4 separate regions of the Homo sapiens genome follow, and all the other regions are linked to region 2. The links are contacts of gene promoters, found by promoter capture Hi-C in human tissues and cell types (Jung and others, 2019). All regions are on one chromosome and are shown on one strand. Each heading gives the region's core, a stretch centred on a gene start or on the middle of the fragment in contact. The rest is flanking DNA. Distances are from core to core; before and after follow the strand shown.

The links. The method cuts DNA at HindIII sites, captures the fragments that hold promoters and counts their contacts. A contact is called where the count stands out against the background at its distance.
Region 1: a fragment that was not itself captured here is called in contact with the fragment with the promoter of TAF4B in region 2 in 1 of the 25 tissues and cell types used here (dorsolateral prefrontal cortex).
Region 3: a contact is called between a fragment that was not itself captured here and the fragment with the promoter of TAF4B in region 2, in 3 of the 25 tissues and cell types used here (lymphoblastoid cells, spleen and thymus).
Region 4: a contact is called between a fragment that was not itself captured here and the fragment with the promoter of TAF4B in region 2, in 1 of the 25 tissues and cell types used here (spleen).

What each region holds. Positions count from the first base shown.
Region 1 is chr18:26,464,851-26,467,812 of GRCh38, reverse strand. The region is part of intron 3 of KCTD1 (potassium channel tetramerization domain containing 1); the gene reads left to right. Among named protein-coding and RNA genes, the nearest start is that of LINC01543, 43 kb to the right of the region's middle. The HindIII fragment of the contact is 4,660 bases long and covers 1-2,962 here.
Region 2 is chr18:26,224,870-26,227,757 of GRCh38, reverse strand. It overlaps TAF4B (TATA-box binding protein associated factor 4b), which reads right to left and starts at 1,313. Exons shown (of 15, transcript NM_005640.3): 1 at 482-1,313. The coding sequence starts at 824. RefSeq lists a silencer at 674-833 and enhancers at 1,484-1,583, 1,614-1,683. The HindIII fragment of the contact is 12,633 bases long and covers 1-2,888 here.
Region 3 is chr18:25,991,864-25,994,777 of GRCh38, reverse strand. No RefSeq gene overlaps it. Among named protein-coding and RNA genes, the nearest start is that of SS18, 97 kb to the left of the region's middle. The HindIII fragment of the contact is 6,784 bases long and covers 1-2,914 here.
Region 4 is chr18:26,367,605-26,370,667 of GRCh38, reverse strand. The region is part of intron 14 of TAF4B (TATA-box binding protein associated factor 4b); the gene reads right to left. Among named protein-coding and RNA genes, the nearest start is that of LINC01543, 54 kb to the left of the region's middle. The HindIII fragment of the contact is 3,920 bases long and covers 1-3,063 here.

The sequences.
Region 1 (2,962 bases), core at 439-2,938, 240 kb before region 2:
GATAGGGTCTCGCTCTGTCACCCAGGCTGGAGTGCAATGGTGCAATCTCGGCTCACTGCAACCTTCGCCTCCTGGGTTCAAGTGATTCTCCTGTCTCAGCCTCCCAAGTAGCTGGGATTACAGGCACCCCCCACCATGCCCAGCTAACTTTTGTATTTTTAGTAGAGATGGGTTTTCACCATATTGGTAGGCTGATCTTGAACTTCTGACCTCAGGTGATCCACCCACCTCGGCCTCCCAAAGTGCTGGGATAACAGGCATGAGCCATTGTGCCCGGCCTTAAAAAATTTTTTTTGAGACAGGGTCTTGCGCTGTCACCCAGGCTGGAATGCAGTGGTGCAATCATAGCTCACTGCAGTCTCAACCTCCCAGGTTCAAGCAGTCCTCCCCGCTCAGCGCCCCCGAAGTAGCTGGGGCTGCAGGCATGCACCACCACACTCAGCTAGTTTTTCATTTTTTGTAGAGACGGTCTCACTGAGCCGCCACAGGTTGATCTCAAACTCCTAGGCTCAAGCAATCCTCCTGCCTTGGCCTCTCAAAGTGCTGGGATTACAGGTGTGAGCCACCACCACAACCAACCTCTATTGTTTATTTTTAATAACATTTTAATATTATAGAAGAAGTACATGTACATTGTAGAGAATTTAAAAATATAGACAAACCAAAAAAAAAAAAACAAACTATACCGTATGTTCCCACCACTCAGACTGCCAATGTTAAAACATTAGTGAGTAGCCTTCTGGATCTTTTCCTGTGCTTATTTTGGACAATAACCTTTACCTTTCCATTTAAAAAAAATTATTTCCTCTAATTCCACAACTATATTTGAGTTTCCCTGCTTGACTCCACAATGCCCTTTACAACTTGCTGGAGACTGGGCTAGCTGTCCTGCAAAATGTCCTGCCATCTCGATTTGTGTGGTTGCCTTGTCATGTGTAGTTTAGCTCATGAATCTATCCCTTAATTTCCTGTAAACTGGAAGTCATCTCTAAAGACATGATGGGTTTACGTTAGACTTGTTGGGGAGAATACATCACAGTGATGCTGTTTGCTTCATACTACCTCACAGTAGCAAAGGCATGTGGTTGAGCCACCATTAATGATGCTAGGAATGAACTGATCATTGTATCAAGGTGAGTTGCATGCTCCTTAGGCTGCAATAAAAACGATCTCTGTCAAGCTCAAAGTAACATTTGGGGCCAAACAATTCTTTGTGGTGGGGGCTGTCCTGTGCAATATAGGGTTTTCAGCAGCATCCCTCCCTACCCATCAAATTCCAGTAGCACCCCCTTCCCGGTTGCAACAACCAAGAGTGTCTCCAGACATTGCTAAATGCCCTCTAGTGTCAAAATTACTCCTGCTCGAGAACCAGTTGTCCAGCTTAAGGAAAAGTTAAAGGGAGTATTGACAGGAAGCGCTTACTAGTTTATCTCATAGAATTAGTGGAAGCTTTCTCTCAGGGATGGAAACAACAGGACCGCCCTGAAGACTTAAATTGCAGGAGGTGCCATTAACATGTGCCAGTCTCAGCAAGCCCAGGGCCTCGTTCCCCTCCCTTGGTCCTACAGAGACACCATCTGATTGGCTCAGCTTGGCTCCATGCCTGTACTTTAGCCAATCAGCTGTGGCAACACACACATTGCTTCTAGGTCCTCATTCCTGCGGGTAGAACTTTCTCAGAGAAAGCAGAGTGGCGACCTGGATAGGCCCCCACTCGCCAGAGTTTCTTCACCCGTACCTGCGGGTAGGTCTTTCTCGGAGAAGGCAGAGTGGCGACCTGGATAGGCCCCCACTCGCCAGAGTTTCTTCACTGGTACCTGCGGGAGTGCCTACTCAGGACATGCCCCAGACCACGGCCTCAGCTGCCGCCACCGAGGCTGTATCCGTGGTCTGGTGACTAGCGCTGTCTGGTACTGCCCATGACCTCTTTTCTCCTCCCAAGGATATTTTCCCAGAGGCAGGACTGGGAGGATGGAAGAGCAGCCAGCCCCACCCCGGCACCATCTCCGATGGTGTCTCTGGCCCCCTCCCTCAGCACGCCCTAGACATCAGGCCTAGCTCCTGTGGTGTGGCGTCCTCGTGACTTTCCAAGCCAGGGTGTTGTTTCAGAATGCTGGTGGGCCTGCCTTCCGTCCCGCCGTCAGCACCCTGACACGGTCACCTGTGTGTGCTTCTGTCTGTAAGATGGGAGTGGAGACAGTGGCAGGGCGTAGACGGGACACTGCTGCTGCTTCCATTTCTTTCAGTAGCCATCAAGACTAATCCTAGTCTGGGTATCCTTGACCCAGGAAAACAAGAGTAGTCGGGAGAAGCTGGGAGTCAGTGCCCCTGGATGAGGAGGGGACTGCCTGGTGAGAACTGTCAAGTAGTGGCAGGAGAAAAGGGGCACGTGGGCCAGTCCCTCCAGGCTTTGAAGAAAAGAAAGAATGGGCCGGGCACGGTGGCTGACACCTGTAATCCCAGCACTATGGGAGGCTGAGGTGAGCAGATCACCTGAGGTCGGGAGTTCAAGACCAGCCTGGCCAACATGGCGAAACCCCATCTCCACTAAAAATACAAAAATTAGCCGGGCATGGTGGCGGGCACCTGTAGTCCCAGCTACTCTGGAGGCTGAGGCAGGAGAATCTCTTGAACCTGGGAGGCAGAGGTTGCAGTGAGCTAAGATCATGCCATTGCACTCCAGCCTGGACAAGGAGAGAGAAACTCCATTAAAAAAGAAATTATTCCAGCCCAAAGGAGTATTACAAGGCCAGGGCAATTAAGAGCTTTAGTACCCTAAACACTGAAAAAACTGCAGTGGCCACTCCCCCAACCTCCATCCCCGACAAGATAAACAAAATCTTTAAAACCAAAGGAAAGTAAGTGCTACAGAGATCTGTCTTTTGTTATGATGACCACTACTTGGTTGCTGTTTTGGAAATGGAAAAGGTAAAATCCTTTCATTTTCTTGGCACCCCTGCTT
Region 2 (2,888 bases), core at 64-2,563:
ATCGATTGGGCCCAGGAGTTCGACGTCGGTGAGCCATGATCGTGTCACTGCACTCCAGACTGGGCGACAGAGCGAAACCATACCTCATTCGTTCATTCATTCATTCATAATTAATAAAATAAGTACAACGCACTTCTACATAATCTAAGCGTATGGAAATCCACGGTATAAACCGGTCCATCCTCCACATGGAAATTAACTTCGGCTATATTATCTCCTCCACCTAAGAGCCAGTGCCTGAAAGCCCCCCCGAATACGCTGATGTAGCTTTTTACTGTATCACTTAGGTGAAAAGATTCTTTCCTTAAATATGAAAAGAAAAACTATGTAGTAATGACACAAAAAGAATATGTTAACTGTAAAGTCAAGATTATGAAATGTTCCCGTGGCTCAGTTTTTTTAGGAGCAATCTGGAGCTGCGAATTTTCCCGTCGCCGCCAGCTGGACCGACAGACAAGGCTGGAAAGGGTTATCAACATACCTGGAGGAAGCTGCAAATTAGCAGGAAACTGGATTGTCGTGGTGTTGGGGGCTTTCACGGCGACTATCTGAGGAGCAGGCAGCCTAGGGCCGCTGCTGACTTTAGGAGGGGCGCTGACCGGAGCCACTTTGGTCACCAGGGTCCCCACGGGGGACCGCAGGGGCTGGGACGCCGTGGGCTCCACGCAGACGCTGACAGGAGCCTTAGTCACGGCGCCCAGGGCCACCGGAGTGCTCTCCACCCGCACCGGCAGCGCCCCGGCCGGGGCCATGGTCACGGTCCCCGAGGCGCTCACAGCAGCCGGGGGAGCGGCGCCGGCGGGTTCGGTGAGGCCGGCGGGCATCCCCCAGGGGCTCAGCGGCAGCTTTGGCGCTGCGGTTCCGGGAGCAGAGGTGAGGGGAGGCTTGGCGCGCGGCAGCCGACTCCGGTGCGGTTCGGGTTCCACAGCATCGCTGGGGAGAGGCGCGGGGGCCGCAGCAGCGAAGTCAGTGACGGGCGCCCGCTGCACGGCAGGACACGCGCGTCCCGGACCTTCCTCTCGTCCGCGCGAGCCTGGGCTGCCCCCGGAGCGACACCCGCCCGACCTCTCGCAGCTTCCTCAGCGGCGCTCACACGTGCGCTGCCTCAGCCCTGCGCCTCAGGCTCGGGTCCCGCTGCGGGGGAGCCTGGACTTGCGGCTCCCGGAAGGTCGTCGCTCACACCTCGAGCCTAACTGCGCAGCTGCTCCCCCGCCAGAAATTTCAAAACTACGAACCCCGAGTGCCCACAGCCCCCTACGCGCGATTGGCACGGCCCCGCCGCGCGGCCACGCCAGCCATGTTTATATAGCCACGCGGAGACCTCGCGCACGCGCCCAGGCCGCCGCCACCGCCCCGGGTTTCCCCGGGATCCGGCCGCGTGATTGGCCAAGGAGCGGAGCCGCGCCCGTGACGTCACTGGGGACGGCTCCAGGGAGCGTTAAAATCTTCCCCAGAATCGCCAGCAAGGAGGGGCGATGCCAGAAACCTATCACGTGGGAGGGGCAAGCTGCACTTGGAAAACTGCGGCATCCGTGTTCCTCTCCTTGTGTCCCCTGTAGTGTGTTCCTCGAAAAGCCAGCACTAGACTATCTCCAGGATTCTATTTTTTAAGGAGAAAATGGGGAGGACTGATTTCCGAGAAGAGTGACTCAATAAGAATTCAATCACGCATTTTCAGTGTTTTTCTCTGCTGTCTTCACACTGAAGCGTTGCTAAAATTCGCAGTTAGAATTGACATTGTAAAAATTAAAATGGCGTATAGTTTTATAGTCTGTGAGATGTGCCTATTTTCATATTTTAGAGTTAAACTGCCTAAAATCTTAAATGGAAAATCGTTTCTTCTTTGGTGCTGCTATAGGTGTCTCTATCACCTCTAAACATTAAAATTGTATGTCTGTCTTCTGAAAAACTTAATGCCTTTTGATATCTATATAATTAGATTCTAGCACTTAGATATTAAGCGTGATCCTAGATATTATCTGGATAAATAAAAGGTGTTGAGTGAATCGATATGAAAAAACTTGCCTGTTTGTAATGCAGTCAGAGAAGATGCCTTAATTTCAAGCTAAAGTCATTATATTGTATGTTTGTAGGAACCAACACTGCACTGAAAGGCGATTTTACAAGTAGGCAGATGCTATGATCTGAATGTTGTGGTGTTTTGTTTTGTTTTGTTTTGTTTTGTTTTGTTTTGGAAACAGGATCTAACTCTGTCACCCAGGCTGGAGTGCAGTGGCACCATTGGCTCATTGCAGCCTCCACCTCCTGGGCTCAAGTGATCATCCTACCCTCCTACCTCAGATTCCCGAGTAGCTGGAACCACAGGGGAGCGGCACTATGCCTAGCAAAAACGGGATCTCGTTATATTGTCCAGGCTGGTCTCCAATTCCTGAGCTCCCGCCTGGGCCTCCCAAAGTGCTAGGATTATACCCCCAACTGAGTGTTAAAATGCTAAAGCTGGAGTTGATAATATTAGAAGGTTGGGCCTTTGAAAGGTGATTAGATCATAAGGGTGGAGCCCTCATGAATGGGATTCCATTCAGGACAAATCATGTTAAAGTGATGAATATGTTAACTTGATTTAATTATTTCACGACACATACAAATGTAACATGATACCTCATAAATACATACAATTATTATTTGTTAGTTAAATACATTAAATAAATAATTTTTTTAAAAAAAGAAACCTCAGAAAGATCCCTCACCCCTTCCAGCAAGTGAGGTTATGGTAAAAAGACTGCTGTCTAGAAAGTAGACTCTCATCAGATACCACATCTGCCTTGATCTTGAACTTCCCAACCTCTGGAATTATGGGACATGAATTTCTCTTTTTATAAGCTACCCAGTTTATGATATTTCATTATAGAAGCCCGAGTGGACTAAAA
Region 3 (2,914 bases), core at 110-2,609, 230 kb after region 2:
ATTATAGAACCATTATAAAGTTCTTTAAGTTTAAAAAGAAAAATGCCTTAGTTGTTTTTTTGTTTTGGTTTGGTTTGGTTTTTTTGATGGAACCTTGCTCTGTTACCCAGGCAGAAGTGCAGTGGTGTGATCTTGGCTCACTGCAACCTTTGCCTCCTGGGTTCAAACGATTCTCCTGCCTCAGCCTCTCTAGTAGCTGGAACTACAGATGCATGCCACCATGCCCGGCTAACATTTTGTAGTTTTAGTAGAGATGGGGTTTCATCGTGTTGACCAGACTGGTCTCGAACTCCCTACCTCAAGTTGATCTGTCCACCTTGGCCACCCAAAGTGCTGGAATTACAGGCATGAGCCACTGTGCCTGGCTGCTGTAGATTTTTTAAGCAGTTATAACAAAATAAGTTAGTGTCAGCCATTAGAATTATTATATGCACAAGGGAAAATACACACTTAGATGAAAAGGAAATTGGAAACATCATCATTACAACGAATAGTTTGTTAAAAGTGTGTGTCTCTGTATTCAGGTCCATTTCGATCTCTGACTGGACCATTTTTTCAGAGCTGTACTGATATGTAACTTTGAAACAAAATGTGGTTGATTGAATTCTCAGTTCTTTACCCTTGTTGGATCCTCACGACATGGATGGAGTATACTTCCATGCTCATGACTTTGGGCTTGTCCATAGTCCTTTCTTTGGCTAACAGAATTGGGTGAAAATTCTAGTTTTGAGCCTAGACCCATGATGTGAGCATGCCTGGCTAGCCCACTAGTCCAAGGAGGATGAAAGACACATAGAGCAGACACAGTCTTTGTGAAGCAAAATCACCTGTCTGATTCATAGAACCATGAAAACAAGTGCTTCTTGTGTGCCACTGGTTTTGGTGGCACAAAACCAGTGTTTTGCTTGTTATGCAGCATTGTTTTTGGCAATAGCTAACTAATACACAATTTTTTTTGTAGTTCTCAGTGTTCCTACAAATTTTCCACTGATTTTTCTTATTTTATTTTTTTGAGACAGTCTCACTGTGTCACCCAGGCTGGAGTGCAGTGGTGCAATCTCGGCTCACTGCGACCTCCGCCTCCCAGGTTCAAGCAATTCTCCTGCCTCAGCCCCTTGAGTAGCTGGGATTACAGGCATGTGTGGTGGCCGGGCTAATTTTTGTATTTTAAGTTGCGACAGGGTTTCGCAATGTTGGCCAGGCTAGCCTTGAACTCCTGACCTTAAGTGATCTGCCCTCCTCAGCCTCCCAAAGCATTGGGATTACAGGCATGAGCCACTGTACCTGGCCACCACTGATTTTTAAATTTGACATACCCACTTCTAATATGTTTTGTATTTAATGCTATGGTTTTTATTTTGTATAAGGATTTCTTGGTCTCATCAGAGCCCAAAAGAAAATTCATCCAACTTTGTTCTCACATATGCTGGTAAAAACAAGAAAGCAAGTTTGATTTTATTTTCCTCAAATCTCTATTTAAGTGTAAATAAACTTTGCCACTCTTTTAAAATTCTGTGCCAGGGTGATGACGATGAGAAATGGATACTGAAGTTCATAAAATGTTTCCTCTTTGCATTCAGTTTTCAGAATTCTCCTTATGTCATGTAGGTCTGAAAGGTTAAAAATAACTCTACCTCCAGAGACTTCTTGGGCTATATTCTTCCTTGAATGGATTCTCTAAGCTTTTCCCACCCAAACTGGGTCATCATCCTTGCCTAATTTTAAAATCTCCCAGATCCAGTGCTCTATAAAAATCAATGAGATCCTTCCCACCAGATAATCCCAGCAGCCACACATTATATTCTCTGGTCTGATTCTGCATGAGTTTGATTTTATATGCTGTATTGTAATAATTTATTAACTTGATAAAATCTGCTGACTCCTCATGGAAAATATTCTGTTTATATTTTATATTTCCTGCTGCTTTCTTTCCATAGCCTTTATTGTGGAGTATTTACATGAGAATAGGGCCTTTGTTTTTTAAAAGTTCATTTGTGCCTGCTGTTTCTTGTCTCCCCTGAAGTCACAGCCCTGTGTTTGTGACATACGTCGTGCTTTTCATATTGAATGCACTCAATGAACCCTAAATAGCTAATTTTCCCATCATGTCTGAGTTATCTAGGTTAGTTGAATTAGCCCTATTTTCCAGGTAGGGCAACCTAAAGAGATAGAGAAGGTGGTCATTTGAGGACATCTGAGTCCAAGTAAAGAGCCCTTGCATCTCTTGTACTAGATGAAGCCGTTCTCCTTGGTTACAGTTCATTCTGCTGGGTTATGATCATGTATATTATGTTAAGCTTACTCTTCCTCTGCAATATTGCTGAAGAAAAGGGAAAGGAAAGATGCACAATGTATGATGAAACTTCACTAATAAATAGTTACTACTACTATTTCTCAGGGTAGTGGTTTCTGAAAAACCTGTTGCGAAAGTGGAGGCAGTGGCTCTACGTAATACCATGTGTGCATGAACCAAGGGGTGAGTTCCAACTTTGAGCTCTCCTTGTCTACATGTTGTCTATACCTGGACCAGAACTTTGGGGTCAATTGGCAGATAACAAATTGAATCATTAAAAGAAAATCCAGTGTATTCATATTAGCCATTAAACTAGCTCGATTTATTCAGATTCTATTGATATGTTCACAGATTTAAGGATTTGCTTACTGATTTGTGATCAACAGCAGTGATGATTAAAACAAAATGTAAACAAATCTATGGAGCAGTTTTAATACTCAATTTGTTTCTGCAGAGAAAGATAAGTCATGCAGTTCTTTTTTTTTTTTTTTTTTTTTTTTGATATAGAGTCTTGTCCTGTTGCCTAGGCTGGAGTGCAGTGGCGCCATCTCAAGTCACTGCAACCTCTGCCTCTCAGGTTCAGGCAATTCTCTTGCCTCAGCCTCCTGAGTAGCTGGGATT
Region 4 (3,063 bases), core at 204-2,703, 140 kb before region 2:
AACTGCAGGCAAAATCAGGTGCTTCGTACCTCATTCTCTGGGGGCTGCTGGAACCTGAGGCTGATTATAGGTATAGAAGCAATGAGAGGTGGTGAGGATAGGTCCTGAGGAAGATCAGTAGTCCCATGTAAGGCAACTTCCTTAAGGGAAGTCAATACAGGTGCTACAGGAGATTAACCTCCTTCAGACAGACAGGGGTAGAAGGACTGGCAAGGGTGGTTCAATAGAAATAGAACTGAGGAGTTCAAGATACCCAGTTTCATTGGAATCTGCTAATATCTCTCATGCAATTTTTAATTTTCCACTCTTTCCCAATAAATGTTGTACACTTTAACCCAAGAGATCTTACAAGATTGGAAGTTCAATCTGCGCTGTAATTCAGCCACCTGCAGGAAACAGACTTTGGGTGTGGTGTCCAGAAATCTCTGCCTTTGGCTACAAGACATAAGGATTTCTTTTAGGGCAATCACAGATGATTTCACTCCCTTATGTGGACTCTGAGTTCAGAATTTACAGCCCTTTTCTTAAGTTCTCCAGTGTACTTTGAAGGAACCAATCTATCTCATTATTATTGTCACTAAAATGTTCTGTGGTAATAAATACTTGTTCTCCCAAAAACTTGCCTTCTAAGGGCACTTAATTTCTACTGTCTACAAGTTTTGCCACTGTATGCCACGGACCACCAGTGTCCCTTTTACCACTAGAGACAGGATCATCATTGCTGTTAGATCTGATTAGACCAGAGAACCAATTCTGGAAAACCCAGAACTAATTCAGGAACCCATCTTTTAAGGTGCTACTCCTCTGCAGCTACCAATGGTATAAAGCCCTGTATTAGTTAGCATTTGACCAGAGAAGACTATAAATGATACAAAATATGGCATTACCAGAGATTTGGCCATGTGTAATTGTTAACCTAGTTAAACAGTTCATGTTCAGCTGTAACTCTGCATCTGGTGCTAGGTCTGGCCCACGGTTCAGAGGAGCCAAAAGAGAAGAGGAGCTAAGGAGCCCAGCTGCTGGGCAATGCCTGTGCCAGCCCATGCCAGCAACGCCTTTGAGCTGCAACAGCATCTGTTGTCCTCACCCTGATCTTCTAAGCAAAAGAATATGGCTGCAGTTTCACACTTACCTTTCAAAGTCAAAATGCTTCATGGCCCTTGCTAAGGATGCAAAAGAAAAAAGAAATCTGGGAAACAGTTCCAGCTTAGCTGGTTTGACACAATACAAGTCCAGCACACCATCTTTGTCTTAAAAACAGGTAACTTTCTTGGAGCAGTCCTGAGTCTTAACTTCTAACTCTTTTATCATTGCTTATTTCTTTCAGTATACCTTACATTTCCAAAGGGGTATTTCATTTTCCCCAACTGCTTTTCTTTCAAATACCCTTCTAGTCTAGTGTAACGGTTGCAAAATATTCCATTTCCTTTCTTTTCCCTTTTTTTTAGTTTCCTTCTGCTTCATGCCTTGTTTTTCTTCCATATTCTCCCTTTTATCTTTCACATAAAGGTTTTTCCTCAAATATCTGGCGATCCTTGCCAATCTGTTGTTATTTAAAAGTAATGCACCTGACTATTAGTATTTCAAGCTTCCTCTTTCCTCTCTTAGGCTAGTTATTTTTCTCAGAAAGAATGCCTCTAGTCACTAGTTTGAATCAACTCTCAAATTCTACTGAATACCCTTACTACCATTTTTCTCCTTTCTTCTTTGTTCTTGTTAATATATGTTTTCAGCCTCTCTATGTGGGACTTGTGAAAAAATGATAAGCCAATAATATGCAACTTAACATATTTCATAGTAAGTCCATAAAGATAGCTGACAAAGAGTCAACCTTTAAGTCTTTGGAAAATTTTAAAGACCAAACTAAAAATTCAGATTTATGTCTAGGTCATTTATGAATAGCAAGGCAGATTTGTTCATGAAGTGTGAACAAAACAGAATGTAAAAAAAAAAAAATCTTAAAATATAAGGAGCTGCTTTGTCTAAGGTAACGGCATGTTCTAAATTCTACTGAATCTATACATTTATAAAAAGAGTTAGATGACAATAAATCTGTTTAAACATCTAATAAGTCAGCTATAATAAACAAATAAGGAACCCTTTAGAAAACTGTGGTCCCCTGTAGCCTGGTAGAAGAGAATGGAGGTAAAGAGGGACTGCTATCTGTGCCCCTTAAGGAAATGCAAATTAAATCTGGGCCTTTCATGTGAATAGACTTTTAGTTAAATTACTTATGCACCTTTTCAGAGTGAAGAATCACCTGTAACAGCAACCAGAAACAGACAATTATCTTTAAGAAATACTGTTTGTCCCCAAAAGGTTTTAAGCCTTTGGGTTTTCCAAAATAATTTCAGGCTTAGTATTTCAATTATAATCTAACCCTATCCTCAAATGATGAAAACTAGCAAATATGGTAAAGAAAATGACACCTACTTAAGATCATTTAAATATCCATAAGAATTCAACCTGGTTCTCTATTTGAAAATGTACACATTTCTAAGTTATAAAAAAAACTATCCCTAAATGATTTTAATACTTAAATAAATGTTTTATAATCTAAGTATTTCTCACATAGGGTATTTTAGAGGTTGTTCAACACTTCTACACCATATTTCCATGTAAAAACAGAACTTTGACCTTTGAAGAGAGCACAAAGGAACGGTAGAGATGCAATAAATAAAAAATTGCAGTGACAAACATTTTTAAGTGATTGATCATATCTACTGCTAGCAAGAAAATGGAAAAATAGGCACTCAATCAGCAGTGGAAACTTTTGGAATGCTTTTGGTAAGCATTATGAGTGTCTATTAAATTTTGTGCATGTCCATGGACCCAAAAGTTCCACTTCTAGAAATCAATCCTGTAAAACAAATGATTACATGAAGATAAAACAGGATGCTCATTATTTATAACAAACAAGTGAAAATATTCTAAATGTCTATCAGTGGATATGTAACAGTATGGGAAAATGTCTATGATGGTTAATTTTATGTGCCAACTTGACTGGGCTAAGGGTTACCCAGATAGCTGGTAAAACATTGTTTCTGTGTGTCTATAAGAGTG